Linked DNA regions of Homo sapiens: regions 1 and 3 are each linked to region 2. Evidence: promoter capture Hi-C in 16 types of primary human blood cells and fetal thymus (Javierre and others, 2016). All regions are on one chromosome and are shown on one strand. Each heading gives the region's core, a stretch centred on a gene start or on the middle of the fragment in contact. The rest is flanking DNA. Distances are from core to core; before and after follow the strand shown. Region 1 has its middle 120 kb from the start of RAB27B. Region 2 holds the start of STARD6 (StAR related lipid transfer domain containing 6). Region 3 has its middle 85 kb from the start of DYNAP.

The links. The method cuts DNA at HindIII sites, captures the fragments that hold promoters and counts their contacts. A CHiCAGO score of 5 or more calls a contact.
Region 1: a fragment that was not itself captured here is called in contact with the fragment with the promoter of STARD6 in region 2 in 2 of 17 cell types (fetal thymus and total CD4 T cells); the score reaches 6.6 in fetal thymus.
Region 3: a contact is called between a fragment that was not itself captured here and the fragment with the promoter of STARD6 in region 2, in 2 of 17 cell types (M2 macrophages and total CD4 T cells). The highest score is 5.2, in M2 macrophages.

The regions. Positions count from the first base shown.
Region 1 is chr18:54,711,195-54,715,534 of GRCh38, reverse strand. No RefSeq gene overlaps it. Among named protein-coding and RNA genes, the nearest start is that of RAB27B, 120 kb to the left of the region's middle. RefSeq lists a silencer at 2,903-3,197. The HindIII fragment of the contact is 1,320 bases long and covers 2,026-3,345 here.
Region 2 is chr18:54,356,388-54,360,802 of GRCh38, reverse strand. It overlaps STARD6 (StAR related lipid transfer domain containing 6), which reads left to right and starts at 2,945. Exons shown (of 8, transcript NM_139171.2): 1 at 2,945-3,011; 2 at 4,359-4,415. C18orf54 (chromosome 18 open reading frame 54) reads right to left here and starts at 2,897. Exons shown (of 9, transcript NM_001288980.2): 1 at 2,728-2,897; 2 at 1,933-2,029; 3 at 1-276. The coding sequence starts at 230. RefSeq lists enhancers at 2,311-2,380, 1,882-2,393. The HindIII fragment of the contact is 3,120 bases long and covers 963-4,082 here.
Region 3 is chr18:54,674,151-54,678,961 of GRCh38, reverse strand. No RefSeq gene overlaps it. Among named protein-coding and RNA genes, the nearest start is that of DYNAP, 85 kb to the right of the region's middle. The HindIII fragment of the contact is 2,359 bases long and covers 1,948-4,306 here.

The DNA.
Region 1 (4,340 bases), core at 1,436-3,935, 350 kb before region 2:
GTTGGACAACTTCAAGACTAGGGAGCCATGTTGATGACTAGAGTCAGGTGAACCCAGAGTGATTAGTGATCAATGAAAGAATGCCTCGTTGAGGCCTGAGGATTGTGGTTTGCTTATCCACTGCACTTCTTTCCACTTCTTCCTAATTCAGCATGTTTTCTGAAATGAGACTTTTTTTATTTTTAAAGAAGTTGATCAGCACCAAAGGACACTAATGTACCCTCAATTAGATCCTTGTTATTACAAAGTGGTGAATGGGCTGGACTGCAGAAGGGGAGTGGCTAGTGTGTGAGGGAGGCAATGCCCCACCATTAAGCATTTCTCTGTAGCTACTGATTTTTATAATATTGGAGAGCTCCCTGAGAAACAAAGCACTATGTCCATGATTGGGCCTCAGACATACACTGACATGTCATCTGTGCAATGACTCCAGGTGGAGAGAAGAAAAGTGAGGCTGCTGAGAGACATGTCACCATAAATCAGAAGGATCCCAGCTTGAGGAAACAGACCTCACCACAGGACCTGCGGGTAGAGGGGAGTGGTGGGTCTTTGTAGATCTTTGTGACTGAGATGGACATGATTGTAATAGAAAAAGACTCCATACAAACTGAAAACCCTAAGATACTGCAATAGACTGAATATTTGTGTCCCCCCAGAATTCATATGTTGGGATTCTAACCCTTAATGTGATGGTTTCAGAATGTGGGGGTCATTGAGAGATTAGGTCATGAGGGTAGAGCGCTAATGGGTGGGATTAGTGTTCTTATCAAAGAGACTCGCAAGAGCTCTCTCACCCACTTTCTGCTATGTGAGGATCGAAAGGGAAGTGGGCAGCCTACAACTCAGAAGAGAACCCTCAGCAGAACCTGACTGTGCTGGCACTCTGATCTTGGACTTCCAGCCTCCAGAACTGTGAAAAGAAAATTTATGTTGTTTATAAACCACCCAGTCTACACTTTGTTACAGAAGCCTGAATTGACTAAGATAGATAGCTCATAAACTCTGTAGTATTTTGGCCCTGAGAAAACTTGAAATGTGTGGGTGCTGTTATCCTCTTCCCTTTCAGTCTGCTTGGCTCACACAGGTGTGTTGAGATTCAGTGCCTGGAAGAATCACTGGGGACCCCCATCAGGTCAGGAACTGCTGGTTCTGCAGGGACAGCTGTGTCACAGTGCCCAGGTTTGTAAAGGGGGGTGCTGGTATCACAGATCTTGGGCTCAACTTGCCAAAAGCCAATGGTGACTATAAGAACAGTGTGACTTGGACCAGTCTGTGGCTTTTCAAGATGACTGTGCAGTGAAGGACATTGTAAGGAGCTGGAATTCATGGATGAGCCGGTGAAGGGGGGCTCAGATCCTGTGGGATTGGTTATCAATTATATGTGACCTTATGTGTACTCACGTGCTAGTGAATTGTGGCAGTCAGGTGCCATATGCAAATGTATCTGTTATAGAATAGAGTGGGATAATCACTGACTTTGGGACTACAGACCTGGATTTAAATCTGACACTTTGTGCTTCCATATAGTTTAATAAGTAGTACTTCATAGGCTTCTTGTGATGACCCCATGTCAACTACATTTAAAGGCCTAGCACAGAATAGCTCCCCATTACAAAAAGAAAACCTGCCGGGCACGGCGGCTCACGCCCGTAATCTCAGCACTCTGGGAGGCCGAAGTAGCTGGATCACCTGAGGTCAGGAGTTCAAGACCAGCCTGGCCAATATGGTGAAACCCCATCTCTACTAAAAATTCAAAATTGGCCGGGCGTGGTGGCACATGCCTGTAATCCCAGTTACTCGGGAGGCCAAGGAAGGAGAATCACTTGAACCCGGAAGACAGAGGTTGCAGTGAGCTAAGATCATGCCATAGCACTCCAGCCTAGGCAACAAGAAGAAAACTCCATCTCAAAACAAAAAAAAAAGTGTTTCTTTTTAGAAAAGGAAACCACTATATTTAGTAGCATAAAGCCAAAGGCTGCCACTCTGGAGATGTGCAGCATTGATAACAGCAATGACTTTCAAGCTTCTTTCACTTTGAAACTTTACAAAGTGAATCTCAGTTTCTTCATAAGTATAATCCAGTAATAATACCTCTGCAAAGAGTTTGTTTAGGATTAGATAGGATCATACATGCAGAGTGCTTAGCATGAATATTCTATACGTGGATCAAGGAATGGTTAAATAAATTGTGGTGGTTATTAAAATAAAACAGAACCTCTACCTCTTCAAGGTGATACAGGAGGAGGGTAGAGAAATGCTGGGTAGAGAAAGGCAGGTCCCTGGCTAGGGCCCTAGCCCCACAGACCTAGGTGAGGACAGGCACTTCTGCCTTTGTGCCCAAATGTTGCATTTTCCAAGACCACCCTGGCCCACCACACCCCTCTCTTGGGCCTATAAAAAGCTGAGACCCTAGCAAGGCAGAGATGAAAGCTGCTGGAGGGCGAGAGGAAAACATCAGTGGAAGAAGACAAGCTGCTGGACATCAAGAGGACACGGAGGGAGCATGCCGGCAGAAGAGCACACCAACAAACGCTGGCACACTGGCAGGCCATCCACCTGCAGGAGAGGCGGAGTTTGGCATGTGCCTGAGCGGCCCAACTCCAGGGGAAAACCGTCTCCCTTCTGGCTCATCCAGCAGTGAAGAGCTATTTCCACTCAATAAAACTTGGCACTCATTCTCCAAGCCCACCTGTGATCCGATTCTTCTGGTACACCAAGGCAAGAACCCAGGATACAGAATGCCCTCTGTCCTTGTGACAAGGTGTAGAGTCTAATTGAGCTGGTTAACATAAGCTGCCTATAGACAGCAAACCAAGAGAGCACCCTGTAACACAAACCCACTGGGGCTTCAGGAGCTATAAACATTCATGCCTAGACACTGCAGTGAGGTTGGAGCCCCACAGCCTGCCTGTCTCTGGGCTCCCCTAGAGTTTTGAGCAGCAGGCACTGAAGAAGCGAGCCACACCCCCATCACACACCCTGCTAGGGGAACAAGGGAACATTTCCCGTTTCAAAGGCATATAAAATGTGAATCATGTGCTTTCTGGATTCATGTAGTAAGAGAAATTTTCTGTCTCAAAACAAGTGTGTCATGCTTTTCATGACCTGGGGTGATCAAATGCTTAGAATAATAACACCAAGTAACATGACTCATCTAAGAAAAAGATATGAGATGAAACTATACTACATTATACTACATTGCAAATGCATTTCTTACCAGCCCCACCGTTCTTTTAAATATTTGAATTCCACAATATATTCAACATCTTGTGTGACTATGTTATTTGTATCAACACTGAGAATAATTCATATTTGTAGATAGAGTAAAGCTCTTTTAAAGAAGCTTCAATAAATCATCATTGCCATCACTTTTGCCTCACCCCCAGTCCCAATGCTCCTCATTTTAACCGACTTACTCCAATCTACTCAACAAAACATGCTGACTGATGTCCACACATGTAGAAGGCTAGTGTTTACTCCCAAGCATGTCCGTGTTCTTCCACTCTATTTGAGTTACACGTAAACCAAGATTCATTAGCGTATAGTACCAAAGCTGTTAGTGTTGGATGTATTTTTAGTGTAACTATATAATTGAATTGAAAGGTGTTTATACTGATAAGATATGAGTGCAAAAGAGAGTTACTATTTCTAAGAAAAATAAATGTAATGCTTTGTAACAACTAGATAAAGATGATTCGCTAAAATAAATTGTTGCCAAATCAGCTATGGGCCCAAAATATTCTAGAGGATTGAAAGTAAATTTTGTGACATGGTGGCTCATGCCTGTAATCCCAGCACTTTGGGAGGTTCAGACAGGTGGATCACTTGAGGTCACGAGTTCGAGACCAGCCTGGCCAATATGGCGAAACCCTGTCTCTACTAAAAATACAAAAATTAGCTAGATGTGGTGGTGCACACCTGTAATACCAGCTACTTGGAAGGCTGAGGCACAAGAACTACTTGAACCTGGGAGGTGGAGGTTGCAGTGAGCCAAGATTGCATCACTGCACTCCAGCGAGAGTGAAACTGTGTCTGAAAACAAACAAACAAAAATAATAGAGAATTATGTATTCAGATGGCTTTGCAAGGGTTTTGTGTTCTTGCTCCACTTAACAGAACTAAAACTAGAAATTATAGACACTTGATACTCATACACACTCAAAGGAAAGAACTTGTCCTCATTGTAAAAGAGTGACAAATAAGTTAACATTTATCTATTTTAAGTTGAGGTAAAAGATTTAAAGTGTATGTCTTATGCTTTCTAATGTAACTAGCATTTTTTTAAAATGACCAAGGTGGTATCCTCATCACATCAGACTTCCCTTGTAATACATCATATG
Region 2 (4,415 bases), core at 1,696-4,195:
TCATCAATGTTAATTTTTCCAGTGCTTGCACCAGGATATATTTGGCCTAGATCAAAATCATCAATATAAGCCTGTAGAGCTTGAGAAGCAGATCTGTACAGCTTATCTTTATAGTGAAACGAGCCATCAGAATTAGAGGAATTACTACCACTCAGGGTGCAGCTTGCCAGCAGGGCAGATACTGAAGATTCCTGAGAACAAAGTCTATGTTTTGTCTTTGATTTCGCCATGGCTTCTTCAAAGTGGATTGTTTCTATTCATTTCCCTTAAAAACAACTGTAATACAAAAACGAAATGTTAAGATGCCAATTAAAAGTGACCATACACAAACAAAATTACTAAATATGTAAACCTTTTGTAATTTTCTTTAAATAATAAAATCCATTATCTATAACAGACACTCCTTGTTAGGAATTGTAGATTTTTGTTATATTTATTATTGTGAATTCCTTCATCAATGATTTAGAAAACATTTTTTGAGTACCTACTATGTGGCTGGAAGTATGTATACAAAAATTATCTGAGAATATACATGGAAAATACCAAGGAGAGAGTACTCACTTCTTAAAAAGTCCTAAAAACTACTTATGAACCTCTTTTCTCTTATGGTGATATATTCTATGACATCACAATACCTAATATTCCCCTATACATCATATTTTTCAAATCATAAGCCTACTACCATGTGCTGCAGATAATAGCGCTCAATAAATTTTTTAAAGCCATCAAATGAAGTATTCAAAACAAGAACAATGGAGAATATTCACTTTCAATGTTATAAATGCTAGTACATTTACAACATTTAACTGTAAATAAACTGCAGGTCTTATTCTGGAATGAGTTAGCAATATACACTTTTCCTAAAATAGTTAATCATTTCCTGACCTTCGTTTTTGGTACCACCCTCCCTATTTTCAATTCTTATGTTAAATGGATTCAGCTCACCTCTTTCAAAGGAAGCTTAAATAATGTGAAAATCAACTCAATGTGTTCTTCTGTTTTTCCATTATTAAAATTGAGAGAATCCCTGTCTACCTCAGTACAGTAACAGGATGTATATTTGAAAACCTAAGAAATCACAGAACGAACCGGCACTAATTCAGTCCATGATGACATTCTTTTTAAAATTAAATGAATGGATTTCCTATACTAAAAAAGTATTAATGTTGAGGACTTAACATATGCTATGATGTTATAATGTTTAATTTTTGGCTATAATTTTAGAAATATTTGTTATAACAACTTTTAATGTAATCTTAGTAACTATTAAATTTGGCTTTAAAACATCGAAAGTTTTCTAATTAAATAAGAGACAAAGTAAAACATCATCCTACCACAGCGTTAGAGCATGCAATGGCCATTACAAGAGATCTGACCGTGGTCAGTGCAAATGGCAGAACATAAGGTAACAGTTGTTTCGTCTCATTGATTTATCTGAATTCTGTAATACTGGTATATCTCTGACGAATGGCTAAACTAAGCCAGCTTTACCTTTTTCGTATCCCTTTTATTTAAAGAAGTTTAAACTCACTCAAGTAAATTTGTTTGGATAAGCCTGACCAAATGTTTTCTGTCTTTGAATGCCGAACAGGCTACTGATTTTATTTTACAAAACCTTGAAAGAGAAAGCTGTTGTATTGGTCTCCGTAAGTGGGTGATAACATTTACTAGTTATTTCAACTCACAGGACAGACAAAAAGAAAATGCACAATTTAAGTTTCATTATGAAAAGTTTTCCAACTTTTCCCCAAAAGAGTATACAAAAGTAGAATCGTTCAATAAACCCCTATGTACTCATCATCCTGCTTCCAACAATCGCTGAACAGACCCCAATTGTAGCTAAAGTGGGTAGGGACCCACCCACTTCTCCCCACTTCAGCCACAGGATTATTTTGAACCCCACATATCTCATGCAAATCCCATATATCTTACCATTTCCTCCGTACAGGCTTCAGTTCGAATCTCCAAAAGAAAATCCATCACGCGGAAGAACAGAATGTTAAACTTATTGACAACAAATTTTAACTAACTTTGATTCAAAAACAGAATGTTCAGTGTTAAATAGCCAATGGGAATATCGCACAGGAAATTAAGAACAACTCTTGGAAATAGCTCTGTGACTGCTAAGTTAGGAAAGGGAACGTTTGTTTACTCGGCAGCAGAAAACCAGGAACCCACCGACCGGCCAGCGAAGGTCGCCCGTCTCCAGCAGTGCGCATCGTTCCCCTACCCCGGGCGCCCTGAATTCCAATTTTTCCAGTCCCAATCAGGCGACACCCTCCCTTTGGTGTTCCACCGCCCGTCAGTCACAGACACAGACAAGTTCTTCAGTGAGATGCTTTTCACTCCGAAACCATTTATTCAGCAGCCAGGGCGAGCGCAGCAATGGACTGAAGGAGAAGTGTTCCGAAGCGACAGCCCCAGAGCGCAAGCCCCTTCCTGTCGCCGCCTCAGGTCCGCAGACGCCCGTGTGAGCCCCCTCCGCCGCGTCCCGCGACCCTCCCTCGCCCAGGGGGCACTCCCCCTACAGTGTTCTTCCTTCCACAGAGACTCCACAAGCGCCCTCCCTCAGGAGACGTCTCCTCCTCTTTCCTCGCCACTCTCCTTTCGCCTTTTCTCGGCTGTCACAGGATGGGACAACCCTCGAAAAGACACCCTCCTTTCCGTCCTAACTCACCCCTAAGGCCCCAAAATAAAAATAAAGGAAAACAAAAACAAAAACCGCACACTTCCACAGCTCTCCGCCGAAAGCTCAGGCCTGTTACCCAACGCGAGACACCACAAAGCATCCCCAACCCGGACACCGCCCCGCCTCAGGCTCGGCTCACTCGCAGCTTCCTCCGCAGTCACAGCAGAGCTCGACACCCGCGCTCGCTTTCAAACCGCCCCAACATGGCGCCGGCCTGCGGTGCGCATGCGCGGCAGTGGGGCGCCGGGCGCGAGCGGAGATGAGGGAGCGGCCGGAGAAGAGAGGATGCTGTTGAGCGTTAGGTCGCGACCCCTGCTGGAAGGTGCTGTTTCTCCCTCCTTTCTGGGGCTGGGAATGGGGGGATGTGGGCTGCATCCAAGTCGCTGCCCCCCACGCCCTTCCAACCTCCGTCACAGCTATTCTCGGCCAGTTTGCGCGGGGACTTGCTGATCTCCCTTCAGCCGGCCCCGGGGTCTGCGGGAGGGGACTGGGTGGGGAGGGAGACTTAAGGGCGCTGGCGGCTGTCGTTCCGGTCGCTGAGAGTCTGCCCCACAGCTCCAGTTTTTCCAAGTGAGTTCAGCCTCCCCGCTTCCAGAGCATCCCCCGCCAAAAATAAGATATCGTCTCAGCTAGTAGGCAGTCCCCCCTCACCACTTCTTTCACTCCCTCTTCAGTGCCTTTCCTCTCACACCCCGGAGCCTCTCACACACAAAGCAGATGGGAGATTGGAGACCCGAGTTTAGCCAGGGATGGGATTTAACAAACTCCTAGGAAGCCTTGATTCCCAGGGAAGAATGGCAGTGACCCCGCACGGATTGGGGACCCAGTCAGGCAGCTCAGAAAGAGGGTCATTGTACAAACAGATGTAAAGACTCACTAACATGTGTGAACCTGTCTGTAAGTCTGGAAGGAATCCAGTTTCAACCAATTGGTGTATCAAAAAAAGAGGCCATCCCAATGTTGGTTTATGTTTATTTTCCACTGACCCTATGAGTGAAGATATCCTTGACCATGAGTCCATCTGAATATGTTCCAGCTCATCCGACGTTCCACCACCATGTAATACAATTGTAGTCTTACTGTTTGCACTTTCTTCTTTTTACCCTTTGTAGCCTACTAAATTTTACCTTCCCTTTTCTCTTAGCAAATGAAAAAGTCCGGAAGCTATAACGTTCAGTTTAGTGGTTAAACACAGGTCTATTGTGGCAGTAATAGTTGGTGATTTGAAAATAAGACATACCCTGCTAGTGGTATGTCCCAATAATCTTCAAAGTCTCTAGATCAATTAATATCAAGTAGGTTTCCAATAGGAAATCAAGAACGGTGTTTTATATGCTAAGACGAGCCCTGGTCGGGGATTAACAATCCTTGTTAATTGTTAGTGACGTAAGCTTAAAAACTTAAATTTTTGTATCCACGTTCCACCTAAGTGTCTTTTTAAACTGAGTTCCTTTAAAATAGTTTCTTAAAGATTCTTTTTATAAACAGTATCTTTTAAAGTTTTTTGTACTATATTTTTCTTTCATCTTGGGGCATATATGTAGCAAATGTTTCCTAATGAAGACAAAGTATAGATAAAGGACACTGAGAAGATATAAAGAAAATTATCAAATATATTGACCTAATTCATGGATCAAAATAATTCTACTTCTGCCTTGTTTCCTCACAGGTTAAGAGATATGGAGATTTCCACAAGGATTTGGAGAGGAGCCCCAGTAGTTACTAA
Region 3 (4,811 bases), core at 1,878-4,377, 320 kb before region 2:
GAACATATGAGGTGATTCATGGATTTGCTTGTCTGTTTTTTTGAGACAGTCTCGCTCTGTTGTCCAGGCTGGAGTGCAGTGGCACTATCTCGGCTTACTGCAAGCTCCACCTCCCGGGTTCACGCCATTCTCCTGCCTCAGCCTCCTGAGTAGCTGGGACTACAGGCGCCCGTCACCACGCCTGGCTAATTTTTTTGTATTTTTAGTAGAGACGGGGTTTCACCATGTTAGCCAGGATGGTCTTGATCTCCTGACCTCGTGATCCGCCCGCCTCGGCCTCGCAAACTGCTGGGGTTACAGGCATGAGCCACCACACCTGGCCAATTCCTGGATCTTAAGTCATCACAGGCCTAGCTATTTGACGCAAGAGTCATGATTTATTCCTATGGCCTTTCCCACACAAAGAGAAAGCATACGTTTATGCTGGAACCAAAGAGAAGAAACATTATCTGTCTAGCAGATTTCATACAAAATACATCTCCATTACCATGTAACTGAAGAGTAACAGTACATTGATATTGATTTGCAGAAGAGAAATGAAGAGGCACACAAAAGAAAAGGCACATTTCCTTTGGTTTACTTAGATTAATTTTAGAATTGATCATATTTCCCTAAGTATTAGCCATGAAAAAGGATTCCTATTGTTTTTGATGATTATAAAAGCACATGCACATTGTAAAAATTCAGACCCCTCATTATCCTGCCATTTTCCAGGGAAGACCACTGCAAAGGGTTGCTATATGTTTTTCATTATTTACATGTATATATAAACACACATATACACAGATAAACATAAATGTAAAAACCTACCATAGTACTCATTTGTCACCTGGTTGCTGCTTGCTGCTTTTTTTTCTAAGCTAAGTATGTTTAGGAAATATTTGCTTGCAATACAGATAATATTTACTTCATCCCTTCTAAATGCAGTCTATATTTACCCAGATTTGGATCTCCCCTCATTTTCCTTTTGAGAGGACAGGGTTCTTTGACACAAAGCGTTAAGCAGAGGTTATGATCTTTCTACGGAGGGTCTTTCTCCATTTCTCGCAGCTCTGCTATGAGCCTCTATCTCTTTTATCATCTATCATCTCCTATACAGTTTTCCTCTAAATCCAGAAAGTAGATGGACAGTCTTCTCTTCTCACAATGCCACAATTAATTCTTCCTCTTGCCTCTGGAGTCATTCAACAAGTAGGACATAGAGTGCCTCACATATCTCAAGACCTCTGCTACACATTTAACAGACGTGAGTCAGCAAAACAGACATGAGCCCTGTCCTCATAAAACTTATAGTTAATGTTGTATATATTTCTATTTCTTTTTTTTTTTTTTTAACCGAGTTTCGCTCTGTCACCCAGGCTGGAGTGCAGTGGCGCAATCTTGGCTCACTGTGACCTCCGCCTCCCAGGTTCAAGCAATTCTCCTGTCTCAGCCCACCGAGTAGCTGGGGTTACAGGTACGTGCCACCATGCCTGGCTAATTTTTGTATTTTTAGTATAGTCGAGGTTTCACCATGTCGGCCAGGCTGGTCTCGAACTCCTGACCTCATGATCTGCCTGCCTCTGCCTCCCAGAGTGCTGGGATTACAGACATGAGCCACCACACCAGGCCTATATTTTTTGATTAAAAGAATGTATGAGGCCAGGTACGGTGGCTCATGCCTGTAATCCCAGCACTTTGGGATACCAAGGTGGGTGGATCACTTGAGGTCAGGAGTTTGAGACCAGCATGGCCAACATAGTGAAACTCTGTCTCTACTAAAAATACAAAAAATTAGTTGGGCATGTGGTGCATGCCAGTAGTCCCAGTTACTTGGGAGGGTGAGGCAGGAGAATCACTTGAACCTGGGAGGTGCAGGTTGCAGGTTTCAGTCAGCCAAGATGGACCACTGCACTCCAGCCTGGGAGACAGAGCAAGACTTTGTCTCAAAAAAAAAAAAAAAAAGCTTTCTGTACATTGCTTAGAGGGTGAGGCTGTTGACTGTGGATTTTACCATTAGATGATCAGAAAGAAAACCCCTAGTGTCTGTAACTATGGATCTTTTCTTTTGGGCAACTCAGAAAATTAAACTCTCCTATCCTGGTGTAAGGTATAAGGTATGGATGCAGCTTCCCCCCTCCCCAGATTGCTGTTAAATAGAGATGCTGTTTATTAAGTATAGTTCACATTTTGCTTATTGGTATAAGATCCCATCTTTATTACTGAACTCTTATATTGAGGGGAGGGAATCTCTTTCTAGATTGTATATGCTTTCGCATGGGTCTCTGTCTGCCAGTACCACACTGTTTTAATTATTAGTTCTTGATAGTATGTTTTATTACCTGGTTTATTACTCTTGATTGCTCTACTTTTTCAGAATGTATAAAAAACATTTGGACATTTGACACTTAGAGGAAATAAGGCCCTTTCCCAGAGTAACTCAGATAATAAGTGGCAGAACTGTCATTGGAACCTCTCTCATAATCACCACCTTTCATTGACTGAAATGCCTTTGTTAAAATATCTACTTATCTCCTTTGGAAAAAAATTCAGAGGAAGAGATATTTCTTCCTCTTTCAAATGCCTCAAAACTCAAATTTCCTTTGGGAACCCCTGAGGACCTAGGTCATGTGTCCACTGAGGCTCATGGCCAACTCTCTAGGAATAGCTGGAAGGTGGAGAAACATAGCGGGAAAGAGAGCTCATGTCTCCACATCCAATGAGCAAAGCTAGTAGCAGAGTCTGCTGATACTTTACTTTTTAGTGTATATTTCAGGAAGTGTTCTTACAGGCATGTTCCTTTTCTAGTGGGGTCACAAATACCAAATAGTTATGTCTTCTTAAAAAGTCATTAATTTTCAGAAAATTTGTCTAAACCTAGTAATAAAAATATATCACTTTTATTTCAATTTCTATATATTTAACTATGAGGTCAAGTATCTTACCCTCTGTTTTTATTCATTACATAGACTTCTTCTGTGACAAGCACATCAATGTCCTTTGTTACTCTTTCTTAGTGTGTGCCTATAAAAATCTTATTAATTTGTAAGTACTCATTATATGTAAGCAATATTTAAAATTTTTTTCTATGTGTTGAAAATATTTTTTTCCCGGTTTGTTGTTGACTTTGGTTTATTGTGTCTTTTCCATGTGAAAATGGAAAGACTTTCATGGATTAACATTTACTAATATTTATCTTTATAAGTCTTAGTTTTGGTATGAGAGATACAGTATGCGTGTATAAATAGGAATTCAATTTTGTCTCTAATTTTTAATGAAGTAGCATAACATAATATGCTAGGTGTATTTTTTTAAATTTAGATCTCTCTCAAAATACTTGTTATACACCATATCAGTTAAAGTACTTAGAAACTGCTCATCATATTTCACTTTAGTTCTTTCCTTGAATGTATACCTAGGTGAATTCTGGCAGAGATAAATTTGGGGCAGAGCCTAGGATCTAAAGAATGTGAAAAAAGTTCCCTATGTCCGAAGGGAAAATCAGCAAAAGGTAAAAGCAAACAAAAAAATGAAGTGTAGGAATAGAGGATTTAAAATGTTATCCTCTTTTGCTTTCTCAGATGGCCTTGTTTGTGTGAAGCACAAAAGCAGCCCCTGTGTGTGACTAATGAATCTTCCAAGGCATTCTGGGGACTGTGTTGTCAGCCCTTTTAATGGCCTATTAAGCACAGGATTGAATAGATTAAGCATGCAGCCGTCCAAATTAGACCTTGAGTAATCTGACTGACCATGTTAGGCCTTGTGTGACACAGCATCCCTTAGGCTGATGTTAAGGACTCAGACAAGGTGAGAAAAGTCTGTGCTCTAGAAACACAGTCCTTCCCAGGACAAAATAAGCCAACAAATATGGAAGGCAAAGTTTAGTTGGATGGAGAGTGTCATAGAACAAGTACTTCACTCAAAGCTCAATTCTGCTTGTTAATAACAATGTGACCTTGGACAAGTTATTTTTCTTTTCTTTTTTTTCTTTTTTTTTTTGAGACAGAGTTTCACTCTTTCACCCAGGCTGGATTGCAATGGCACAATCTTGGTTCACTGCAACCTCTGCCTCCCGGGTTCAAGTGATTCATAAATTACCCAGACTCAGGTAGTTCCTTTCAGCAATGAGAGAATGGACTAATACAGGCTCCTTCATGAGCTTCTCTTCCTGTCTCCTTTTCATGTTTCATAATCTCGAGGCCTCGCCATTCTCTTATCCATTCAAAATTACTTTTGAGTGCTTACTTTGTGTAAGACACTATGCCATGGGCTACTAGACTAGTACACTGTTGAATAAAACATGTGTTTTGCTCTTAAAAAAAAAGCTTATAGGTTAATTAGAGAGAAGATAATAAAAGTTAATATTTATTGGGCAATTATTCTGTGCTAGATGCTTAATTCTCATTAATTCCCACAGCTACTCTGAGGGCTACATTCTCTCTTTATCCCCATTTTACAGGTGAGACAAAGTCAGGCAACATGTCCAAAGTCACATAACCTGCAAGTGTCTGAGCAAAGATTCAAACCCAAATATCTATGAATTCAGAGCCCAAGTTTTTTAATCAGACTTAAACACTATGCTATATTAAAAAGTAATTATACTGTGGTATAATATAACTAGAATGTGGTGAATGACATATGAAGTACGAACAGATTTGCATGGACATTTAGAGGAAGGAGTGGCCACTTTTGGCTGCAAGAATCAGAGAAGACATGGTGTAGGAGAGATTGGAGATGTATCTTTAAAAGCCATATTAGTCTATGCTCTGCCAAGATTATTATTATTTTCAGCAGAAATGCTTTCAAGTGAGACTGGGAGCCCATCCAATGAC